Regions from separate parts of the Homo sapiens genome. Here region 2 is linked to region 1. Evidence: promoter capture Hi-C in human tissues and cell types (Jung and others, 2019). All regions are on one chromosome and are shown on one strand. Each heading gives the region's core, a stretch centred on a gene start or on the middle of the fragment in contact. The rest is flanking DNA. Distances are from core to core; before and after follow the strand shown. Region 1 holds the start of PGPEP1L (pyroglutamyl-peptidase I like). Region 2 overlaps IGF1R (insulin like growth factor 1 receptor).

Evidence for each region. The method cuts DNA at HindIII sites, captures the fragments that hold promoters and counts their contacts. A contact is called where the count stands out against the background at its distance.
Region 2: a contact is called between a fragment that was not itself captured here and the fragment with the promoter of PGPEP1L in region 1, in 1 of the 25 tissues and cell types used here (bladder).

The regions. Positions count from the first base shown.
Region 1 is chr15:99,005,537-99,010,929 of GRCh38, reverse strand. PGPEP1L (pyroglutamyl-peptidase I like) reads left to right here and starts at 3,138. Exons shown (of 5, transcript NM_001167902.2): 1 at 3,138-3,571; 2 at 5,274-5,393. The HindIII fragment of the contact is 12,693 bases long and covers 1-5,393 here.
Region 2 is chr15:98,857,617-98,863,701 of GRCh38, reverse strand. The region is part of intron 2 of IGF1R (insulin like growth factor 1 receptor); the gene reads right to left. Among named protein-coding and RNA genes, the nearest start is that of MIR4714, 76 kb to the right of the region's middle. The HindIII fragment of the contact is 3,260 bases long and covers 869-4,128 here.

The sequences.
Region 1 (5,393 bases), core at 1,889-4,388:
ACTGGATTTTAACAAGTAGAAAACTTCCTTTTGCAACAGTTGTTACTTTGCAGTCAAGGAGCTGTAGTCCCTAAAAAAAAAAGTGATCAAGGCTTAGCAAAAGTCTGAGGGAAAAATATAAGACAGAAGAAAAATAAAGACAAATCCTTCTCCTACAAAATGTAACAGAAATATCACCTTGCGACAGAGTCTCACTCTGTCGCCCAGGCTGGAGTGCAGCATGCGATTTCGGCTCACTGCAAGCTCTGCCTCCCAGGTTCACGCCATTCTCCTCCCTCAGCCTCCCGATTAGCTGCGACTACAGGCACTACTAAAATTAGCCGGGTGTGGTGGTGCACACCTGTAATCCCAGCTACTCAGGAGGCTGAGGCACGAGAATTGCTTGAACCGGGAGGCGGAGGTTGCAGTGAACCGAGATTGCACCACTGCACTCCAGCTTGGGCCACAGAGTGAGACCCTGTCTCAAAAAAAAAAAAAAAAAAGTCTACTACATTTATTCATTTATTTTATGGCCCTTTTCAGAAATCGTGTGCTGGCTGGCCCCTGCTGGGGTACAAAGCTGCAGAGGCAGAGGTATAGAGGAGGGTGAGTTCTGAATCTGCCTTGGTAGAGTGACATTATTGGAGGATCCCTTAGTGCTTTGACAAGAAGCAATTTGGCTATGGGTTGTGTTTTATAGTAGAGCTAAGTCGCTTATCTGGAAACAGTGATGTTTGACATGGAGAAAGACTTATGTTATCATTATTTTGGAAATCACAAGTGCTTCTTGCTGATTGATTTATTTTCTCCCCACCTCCCAAAGGAATTTGACCAGTTTGATTAAATTTCATTTATGTCAAGTGTACAAAATGTGTTGTAAGAGCTGTTTGTGTCAGAGACAGTAAACAAACCCCTTTAATCTTTTTTCTTGCGAGAGCAGGAAGTCACCACTTGCCAATGAGAAATTTAAAACAAATCCCACAAAGTTTTGAGTTTAGTTCAGCACGTGAAATAGTTGAGGTCTTGGGATCTTGTAATCTTGGCAACTCCCATTTGCTGTCCCTGGTGAGAACACTTGTGTACCGTTGCTTACTTTCCGGTTCACTAAGAGGGTCGCACCTTGCCCTCTTAATCCTAGAGTCAAATCTGATTACAAACATTTTCCTCTCGGGAATCCCGCTTGTAAGGAAGATCACTGTGCTCTCTGTTAAATAAAACAGCTCCATTTAGTTGCCTTATTCGTTCTCAGGCTTACTGTATTTCATCAGCCTAAAGACTGTGTTTGACATCAATTATTAGAGACCATTTGTTTTTACAATGGAAAAAGAAATAAAAGTGCAGATGTTGAACCTCAAAATCCATACTTCTCAGAGCTATTTTCATTCCAGAAAGTAGGAATGTGCTGGGGGGTTCTTGTGTGGGGAGAGGGGAGGTGAATGAATACAAAAATAGACATATCACTGTGACTAAGTAAAATATTTTGTGTTGTTTTTTCTATTAATTTCAAAATTAGAGAAAACTTTAGAACAGAAAAAAATAAGTGAATTATGGGAAAGTGAAAACTGCAGGACACATTCCAGTTTAGTTAAAATAATAGCTCCTGTCAAATCAAAAAAAAAATGATGAAAATTTCAGCTTTGTTATCAGAAAAGTAGTATGGTTAAAGATGGGCAGTCTTTGCACTTAAGGAGTCTCCTTAAACACAAGTTCCCATTCCCAGACCTCATAGGTGAATGTTGATAGCAGAGTTGGACCCTAGCAGCAACCAACTTTACAAATGTGGGCATTTCTGGACGGGCGCGGTGGCTCACGCCTGTAATCACAGCACTTTGGGAGGCCGAGGCAGGTGGATCACGAGGTCAGGAGTTCAAGACCAGCCTGGCCAAGATGGTCAAACTCTGTCTCTACTAAAAATACAAAAAATAGCCAGGGCTGGTGGCAGGTGCCTGTAATCCCAGCTACTCCGGAGGCTGAGGGAGAGAACTGCTTGAACCTGGGAGGCGGAGGCTGCAGTGAGCCGAGATCGCGCCACTGCACTCCAGCCTGGGCAACAGAGCGAGACTACATCTGAAAAAAAAAAAAAAAGAAGAAGTGGGCATTTCTTAATGGTCCAATCTCTTCCTTTAACTGTGCAGAGGAAGCCAAGCCCCCACTGAGAGGTGACAACATGCTGGTAGGCCTCGCAGCCGTCACTCACTCTCGGCTCCTCTGCCTGGGCTCCCACTTTAACGGCACTTGAGGAGCCCTTCAGCCCGCCGCTGCACTGTGGGAGCCCCTTCCTGGGCTGGCCAAAGCCAGAGCCGGCTCCCTCAGCTTGCGGGGAGGTGTGGAGGGAGAGACGCGGGCGGGAACCGGGGCTGCACGCCGCGCTTGCGCGCCAGTGCGAGTTCCGGGTGGGCGTGGGCTCGGCGGGCCCCGCACTCCAAGCAGCCAGCCCGCCCCGCCGGCCACGGGCAGTGAGGGGCTTAGCACCTGGGCCAGCAGCTGTTAGTGCTCGACTTCTCGCGGGGCCTTAGCTGCCTCCGTGCGGGGCATGGCTCGGGACCTGCAGCCCGCCATACCTGAGCCTCCTCCCCCGCGTCATGGGCTCCTGCGCGGCCTGAGCCTCCCCCACGAGTGCCGCCCCCTGCTCCACAGGACCCAGTCCCATCGACCACCCAACGGCTGAGGAGTGCAGGCGCACTGCACAGGACTGGCAGGCAGCTCCACCTGCGGCCCTGGTGCGGGATCCACTGGGTGAAGCCAGCTGGGCTTCTGAGTCTGGAAGGGACTTGGAGAACCTTTATGTTTAACTAAGGGATTGTAAATACACCAATGGGCACTCTGTATCTAGCTCAAGGTTTGTAAACACACCAATCAGCACCCTGTGTCTAGCTCAGGGTTTGTGAATGCACCAATCGACGCTCTGTATCTAGCTACTCTGGTGGGGACTTGGAGAACCTTTGTGTCCACACTCTGTATCTAGCTAATCTAGTGGGGACGTGGAGAACTTTTGTGTCCAGCTCCAGGATTGTAAACGCACCCATCAGCACCCTGTCAAAACGGACCAATCAGCTCTCTGTAAAACAGACCAATCGGCTCTCTGTAAAATGGACCAATCAGCAGGATGTGGGTGGGGCCAGATAAGAGAATAAAAGCAGGCTGCCCCAGGTAGCAGTAGCAACTTGCTGGAGTCGCCTTCTGTGCTGTGGAAGTTTTGTTGTTTTGCTTGTTTGCAATAACCGTTGCTGCTGCTTACTGTTTGGGTCCGCACTGCCTTTATGAGCTGTAACGCTCACCGTGAAGGTCTGCAGCTTCGTTCTTAAAGCCAGCCACATCACGGACCCACCGGGAGAAACGAATAACTCCAAACACGCCACCTTAAGAGCCGTAGCACTCATGATGAAGGTCCGTAGCTTCACTCCTGAAGTCAGCGAGATCACGAATCTGCCAGAAGGAAGAAACTCCGAACACATGCGAGCATCAGAAGAAACAAACTTGGGACACGCTGCCTTTAAAAACTGTAACACTCACCGCCAGGGTCCGCGGCTTCGTTCTTGAAGTCAGTGAGACCAAGAATCCGCCGATTCTGGACACACCATGACGGAACTAGGTAAGTGATAGGAGCTAGGAGAGCTGCTCACCAGAGGAGGTAGAGACCAAGTCTACAAGTGCATCCGGGGTATATTGAGAAACCGGGTAACTTCTGTGAAATGAGGCAAAGTACAAAAATCCTCTGCATCCCACTCATGGCAAGGTGGGCCCAGCTTCTCAGGACAGGGAGTGGGAGACTAGTGGGAGCAAATGGCGCTTCCCACCTGTTGGCAGTGAAGAGGCCTGCAGCCCACACCAGGAGCTAATTAAAGGGAATTGTTCCTGGTTCAGAATCCCAGAAAGCCACCAAGGGGGGTCTAATCCGCGGGGGTGATCCCAATTAAAAGGGAGCGCTTTATATCAGGAGGACAATTCAGCAGATGGAGCCACGTGGTCCTGCTGTCACACTGAGCTCTCTAGAGGCCGCAGGGTGCTTGAGAGGCTCTGCCTGCTTCCCTGAAGGGAGCTTCTCCTCCCCAGACCTAGATGGGGACAGAGAATCATGGGTCTTCTTCCTCTTAATATACAGCTTCAGGAAAAAAGTATTTTCAGTTTAAAAAAAAGTTTAAGAATATTTTTAGAGACAGGGTCTCACTCTGTCACCCAGGGTGGAGTGCAGAGGTGCAGTTACGACTGACGGCTCAAGTGATCCTCCCGCTTCAGCCTCCCTGAGAAGCCAGGACTATGGGCATATACCACGTTTTGAAAAAAATAATTGATGCAGTCTTGCCACGTTGCCCAGGTTGATCTTGAACTCCTGGCCTCAGGCTATCCTCCTACCTTGGCCTCTCAAAATGCTGAAATTAAAGGCGTGAGCCAGTGCACCTGGCCAAAAGTTTGTTTTGTTTTTAAATAGAATTCTCCGAAAGATCAAGATATTGGAAAACAGCTTTTTCGATAGAGGAAATAGCCTCAAATGTTAGCCTTTTTCAGTTATTCTGACACATTAAAAAGAGGACTGTCTGCAGAGCCAGGTGGCATGCCACGGCTGTGGCTCACTGTCAGTGGCATGTTTAAGGAGTCCAGCACAGTGTCAAGAAAGCACTTTTCGCAGGTAGAACGCAGGGTGGTGAGCACAGAGCTAGCAAGCTTGCACAGACGCTAGCTAGGTGGCAAGCCTCTGTTCCTCAGGGCTGATGAAGCTGGGGACAGTGCCTGGGGCACAGAAAGAATCCATACAGGATCCGGTGCTGCGATCCTCGTTTCTCAAAACAGGAAACCTGAGCACAGAGGTTAACTTCCCTGAGGACCCACAGCTCCTAGGCAGCGGTGCTTGCAATCAATATTTTAAAGGCAGGCGCCATAAGATTCATCTATGGTTTTCTCTCTTTTTTTTCTGCTCACATCTCACATATTTTGTGGAATTAGTTTTCAGAGCAATCAAATTTTACCAAATCATAATGGCCAAACACAATGAGGGGCTCTGGCAGGGATTACTAAAGAGGAAAAAATAAGATCTAAGTAAACGACTTGTAGGGTAGCCCACAGTTCCTAGGACAGTACCTCTTTGAGCACCATGTGGTGTTCCGTCCCAGACATCCTTCTGTCCCAGGCAAACCGGGACAGCTGGTAGCCAAACCCTTAGCTCACCTTTGAACCATCCTGAACAACAAAGTGACCCAGACTCAAATGTCCAGAAAGTCCCTGCTGGCGCTCCAACCCGCTGTCCTGAGCTGGATCGTTCTGCTTTCAAGGGGCATTGCTTTATCACCCTCCCCTAGATCCTTGGCCTTTCGGGGCCCAGAACGCTACGGACGCCGGGCGGCCAGGAGGGGTTGGGCTCCCGCTCCACCCCGGTCCCCGGCGAGCACGCGGCCAGGCAGAGAAGGTGCCCGGAGCTC
Region 2 (6,085 bases), core at 1,249-3,748, 150 kb after region 1:
GAGAAAGGGCAAGAACATTTCAAATAACATTCATATGTGGGATTTCTTAAGCTTCTGCATATTTTTTCTTCTTCATGTGACTAGTAATTGTCCTCCCAAATAAAAGTGGACTTGCCACTGCTAGTTAAAAAGTTTATGTCCCTCACTGTTAAAAAATACATAAAATCCTGAGAGTAGAATCCAATTACTAAGTGTAGAAAACAGAAATAGAAAATCACCATTTGGCAAACATCACAGTAATGGATGTTAAAATTAGTGGGTGAAAGAATAATGAGGAACAGAATGCTTGTTTAGATAGTCTCAAGTATCTACCTCCAAAAGATTCTTCCTAATTACAAAGAGAAAAATAGTAATGATAATGGAGGAAGCCACAGAGACCACCTTAACTAAGGGATCAAAGCTAACAGCACCAGGAAAGGAAACATCACGCATCTCCTGACAGGATGCGCAAAGACACAAACAGCAGCACCTCTGTGATCTCCAAGTTAAAAATGTACCCCCCAAATTTAATCAGGAGGAAACATCCACAAACTCTAACAGAAAGATATTCTACAAAATAACTGGCCCCATGTTCTCCAAAAGTGCGAACTTCGTGAATGACTAAAGAAAACCCAGGAAAACGTCCCAGAATTAGAAAAACTGAACACAATAAATGCCAGGTAGGATCGTCTCTTGGATCTGGAACCAAAAAAAGGGACATCAGTGGGAAAATAGTGAAATCCGAATTCAGTCTGGAGATTAACAGCACTGGAGTATGGAGTGAACACTGTTTTGATAACCGTATTACGGTTATGTAAGATGTTAACATCTGTGGAAGCTGGGTGGAGGGTGTTCCAGAACTCCTGGTACTCTTTGTAACCTTTATGCAAGTCTGAAATTATTTCAAATTAAAAAGTTAATAAACGTTTTTAAAAGTTGATAAAGCAAAAGAAAACAACTTACAGCATGATCATCAACTAAGTTGAGAAAAAGACCTTTGAACTATAAGGATACATGCAAATCAATAAATGACTGACAAACTCAAAAATCCCACCTCCAATGATACACTTAACTTTGCATTCCTTGCACTTGAACCAGAGTTACTAAAAGCCGTGCACCTCAAGATAAAGTCACTGATAGCTTAATAAATAAGGTGAATCCCTAGTTTAGAGATATGACAAACCTCTACTTTTTACAGATGATTCCTAGAGAAATACTGTTGCTGGAGTTTATTCAGGCTGGTAGAGAACCGGGCATCCCAAGTTGAGGGCCCTTTCCATTCTGACATATTGCCTAGCATTTAATTTAGCTTAGATTTGTCTTCCAGCGAGGTGCAAGTGGGAAGTTAAGATGGTTGAAGGATGCAAAGAGGAACAGTCAACAAAATGCACGACAGAAAATTATGTGCGACTCTCCTGGATCCTTGTGACAACTCCTTGTCCTTTTTCTTCAAATGTAGTGAGAACTGTGTTTTTCTAACTTGCCCATATACCCTGCTCTATCATCTGCTACAGATAATATATGCTTCTGCTCTCTGCATGTTATACATAAAACAGATCAAATTCTTTCAACAGCAAAAATCTTTATTGCATTAGCAGAAATTTCCCAGCATCATAAGCCCTACAGTTTCCTGATCCACCACTATGTGGTAGGGAAGGCAATAAAAAGAGTTTGTCAGGGTTTCACCCAAATCTCATCTGAAAAGCTTGATCTACTTTTTTCCGGAGACCAGCCCCAAATGAAATGATCCTCATTGGGGAATAACAAAAAATTGAGGCCAAAAGTGAATGTGAAAAGCTACCATTTTTATTTTGTGTTCCCAGCATTATGGGATATGCAACAGAAGATGAGAATTCTGCTGTCAAGGAATGTACAAAATCCTTTTAGGTACATGTGCCCTATTTAGGCAGTATTACTGAAAGGAAAGGAGTGAGCGTACCATGGATTTGGTCCGTGCCTTGTACCAAGAGCCATGCTAAGGCTTCTCTGATTACATCCCCATAAGCTCCTTTTTACAGAAAGGAGACTAAGGTGCAAAGACTTGCTGACTTGTCCAGCATCAGAGGCTCAGAGGTGGTAAAGACGGGATACAAACCCAGAATGTCTTCACCCCAGGATCTAGGCTCTGTCAGACCATGCTGTCTCCCAAATGAAAACAAGTTTTGCTTGCAAAGGCTGCAACAACTAGGAAGTATGTAGTAGAGGGTGGAAAGCTAATGTCCCCTAGAAGCAGGGCCTAACCTGAGAACTGCGAGAGAGGCCATGGAGGTTGGGGTTATGAACACTAAGGAGCACCAGCGCTGCATGCAGAGGGTGTAAGGGTCCTCCCTACGCGGGTCAGCATGGTGAAAGAGAAGGACTAGGAGGGCGGAGCTAATAGTAGGAGGGGAGAAGACCGATAACAAACTTCTTCAGAATGTCCCTGCATGTATATTTATCTGAGAGGAAGGTGTAAGGAGGCCCTTCTAAAATACTATGTCATTGAACTAGGTGTGCCAAGGTCTTGTATATAGCACATCAAGGGGAAAGTGCATTCATTTGGAAGATTTGTTTTTTCACTACTGAGTTGGGCTTCGATGTGGGTAAATGAGTTACATTCATTTAAATTATTCCAGCAACTATCATGAGAGAGACAGACTGAGACGGAGAGATGTTCAGAGAAAGACAGAGACATAGATGGAGGGAGGGAGGGAGGGAAGAAAAAGAAAAAAAAATCATGCAAAGGAATAAATTTATCACACATTTATACCTCACCTTTCCAGAACTCAACTATTCAGCAAATAAACATTTCTGGGGTAGTCAAGCACCAGGAAGAAGCTTGGTTTCACTTACTGCCTATTTACTCTTAACACATAACTCTAACAAGCTTAGAAATCTGTTTTCAAAGCACTCACAGCAAAAAGGAAGTGGCAAATAATCACCTACAGAGGGGCTGATGGAGACGGCTTTCTCTTCTTACTGAAATAAGTCTATTAAACAGAAATGGAGACATAAAAATGGTAAAACCAAACCATAAGAACACAATAAGCACAAGAAACCTTCAGCAGAGGGCAAACTGCCTCCCACTCAGCCTTGAGGGTATCACTGTATTATGCATAATACAACAATTTATGCTCGCTGATGTCCTCAAGTTGGCCAGAAATGACTAAATTATATTCACTGGAGTAAGAAGCAAAGAAGTACAGAATACATGTTGGAAAGATTTCCAGCATGATAGTGCACAAAAACTGGTGCAGTAGTCTCAGTTCTCCCTAAGGCTTTAATGTATTTCATCATCTGGTCATTGCTCGATCTGACAAATATTTACTGAGCATATTGGAGAGACTTGCTGTGAGAGGCCTGGCTCCTGCTTTCACGGAGTTCAAAATCTACTAAGAAGCTGAGATACTCAAGATCCACATTTCTACTAGGATGGTCTGTACAAGGGTTTGGATTGTTGTACTAAGTGCTGCGCACTGACTCCGAAAATCATGACTTATTTTTGGATATGAGCAACTGAAATTGGCCTAAATGTTAAGAAACGGTGTGCCATTTCAAAAGTCTTTGATCATACAGTTCAGAGTCAAGGATCAGTCAATACTTCAAGAAACTCCAGCCTGGCCAACATGGCGAAACCCCGTCTCTACTAAAAATACAAAAATTAGCCAGGTATGGTGGCACATGCCTGTAATTCCAGCTACTCGGGAGGCTGAGGCAGGAGAATTGCTTGAACCCGGGAGGTGAAGGTTGCAGTGAGCCGAGATCGCGTCACTGCACTCCAGCCTGGGTGACAGAGCAAGACTCCATCTCAAAAGAAAAAACTTCAAGAAACTACCCATGTGGTCATGAAACCAAGAAGCAAGGCATGCTGCTTTGGCTGCACAAAAATATACAGTACAGAAGACCAACAGAACCACAATTCCTGAATTTCTTTCTCTTTATTGAAGAAATTAATTCTAACACATACACCTTCTTATATTTAGGCTAGGACATCTTATAACTAAATCAATCTATACAGTTAATCATGCATTTAAGAATGTGTGTGTTTGTTTTTTAAAGTGATATTTATTAAAAGGAAAAATCCTGGCTATCTGGACACTGAGAAATGCACAAGCTTGCAAAAACCGTAATTTAATCAGAAAACCCAGATACAGTAAAGTTACTTTTCATTTTCTTTTTGTTTCAGAAACCTTGCAAGAAGTTCTTTCCCTTCTTGAGGGCAAAGCTTACGAACTGGAAAGTTTCATTTTAATGGGTTCTTTCTTGGGGCAAAAACATGCAACACCAAATATTCTAGAGTGTCTGAGTGCAAACATCGCAGATGCAGTAGTGCAAAGGAAAAGCAAACACTTTAAAATCAAGTATGTCTTAGTTCAAATCCTGTGTTTACCACCTGCGAAGTGTGTGAGGTAGACAATTTATTTTTCCAGGCTTCCATTTGTTCTTCCGTAAAACAATGTTGGTAGAATCTACCTCATCGGCTGTTGCAAAACTAAATGAAATGTGCTTTCAATACACTGGTCATAATTATGCAGGTGGACATGCTGAATTTTTACACCGATCTCAATATACATGGGCTTTGTAACTGCAATGATAGCTCAGTGGAGCTCAAACTGGATGTGTTTCTAAAAGTCCAAAAAAAGTTTGGACTTTTTTTTTTTTTTCCTCCATTATGACATTTTACTTCTTGCTTAGATGAGAAGCTAAACCCTCCCCGGAGGCTGGGCTTCCTAATGAGCAGAATAAAGTTCTAAGGAACAACCACAACAGAACCAAAGGGTAGACTGAAAGTAGAATTCTGCCATTGAGGAGGCTTACTGGCCTTCCTCCCTTAAAAGCGTGAGCCACTATGTGGCATGTTCAGACTCCTTCAAACATAGCTGGTCCCAGATGTCACACGAAGTTTGGAAAGAGGAAGTTTGGCTGTTCAAAAATAAAAGCAGGGTGCTGATAAGGATGATGATGCTACTAAAACAGAGTGAGAGATTTCTCCCCGCAAACCCTGGCCACGGAGTGCTGTGCTGGTTTGCTGCGCTGAACAATGGAGGAGGAAGCCCAGGCGAGACCTCGTCCACGTTTATTAGCATCCTGAAAGGTGGAGTCTGTGCCTCCGAAGCCCAGAGTTCTCTAAGCCTTTATATCTCGATTAAATGGCTGAGATTGTCCTTGTGTACTTGGGTGGATTGATGTTATTTCCAAAGCATGCAATTCATTTCAAGAGGGGAGAGGGAGGATTAAGTTGGAAATATTTTTCTATTCAAGGAGGAAAATTAAATATAACTGGAAATGTTTTCAGGAAAATGTTTTTATATTTCAATGTTTCCCCAGAGCACTGTGATCCCAATACATCACAGGACTGTGCTAGATTAAAAGGAATGAAGACAAAATGAATTTAAATAAAAACTGAAACTGACCAGCCAGGCTTTATTCTCCATATCTGAGGAAACAACGAAGCGGGGGGAAACTACAAATGAACCAAAACAAGAAATAAAAATCAACTCAACTAAAATTTTAAACTCAAATGAGTGTTTCAATTTTGTTTTAGAATTTTTTCAATCTAGTTTATTTTCATAGCCACAAAAGCTTTTGAATAGCCATGAATTGATAGCCACTTGATTGACAGAACCATTAAGACTTTTTTGGTTGTTTTCTCTTAATCATTTTCCTTAACGCTTGAATCCGCTGATACTCAGTTACAGAAGACGACTTGCTTGTCTTATAGTTCTTAGGTCATTACAAGTACTTAGTATTTGCTAATAATCAACACCAACAGCTCCAGGAAATGTGTACAATTAGACAGCTGGTTTAACTGGTTGTGTTGCATTTTTTAAAACGTGCATACCACCCCCTTTATGAGCCCTAAATATGACAGGAAAAATGGAATGTACAGGTCTCAGTTATCCTTATCAAAATAAACACATATTTTTAAGAGGAAAGAATTTTGTCAGTTAATCCTGTGTTAGATCTGTGATGTCCAGTAGCCATTAGCCACATGTAGCTATTCAAATTTAAATTAAAACTTTAAAAAAATCCAAAATCCAGTTCCTCCGTAGCACTAGCCACATTTCAAGTGCTCCATAGCCACATGTGGCTAGCGGCTCCTGTACTGGACAGGGCATCCACAGAA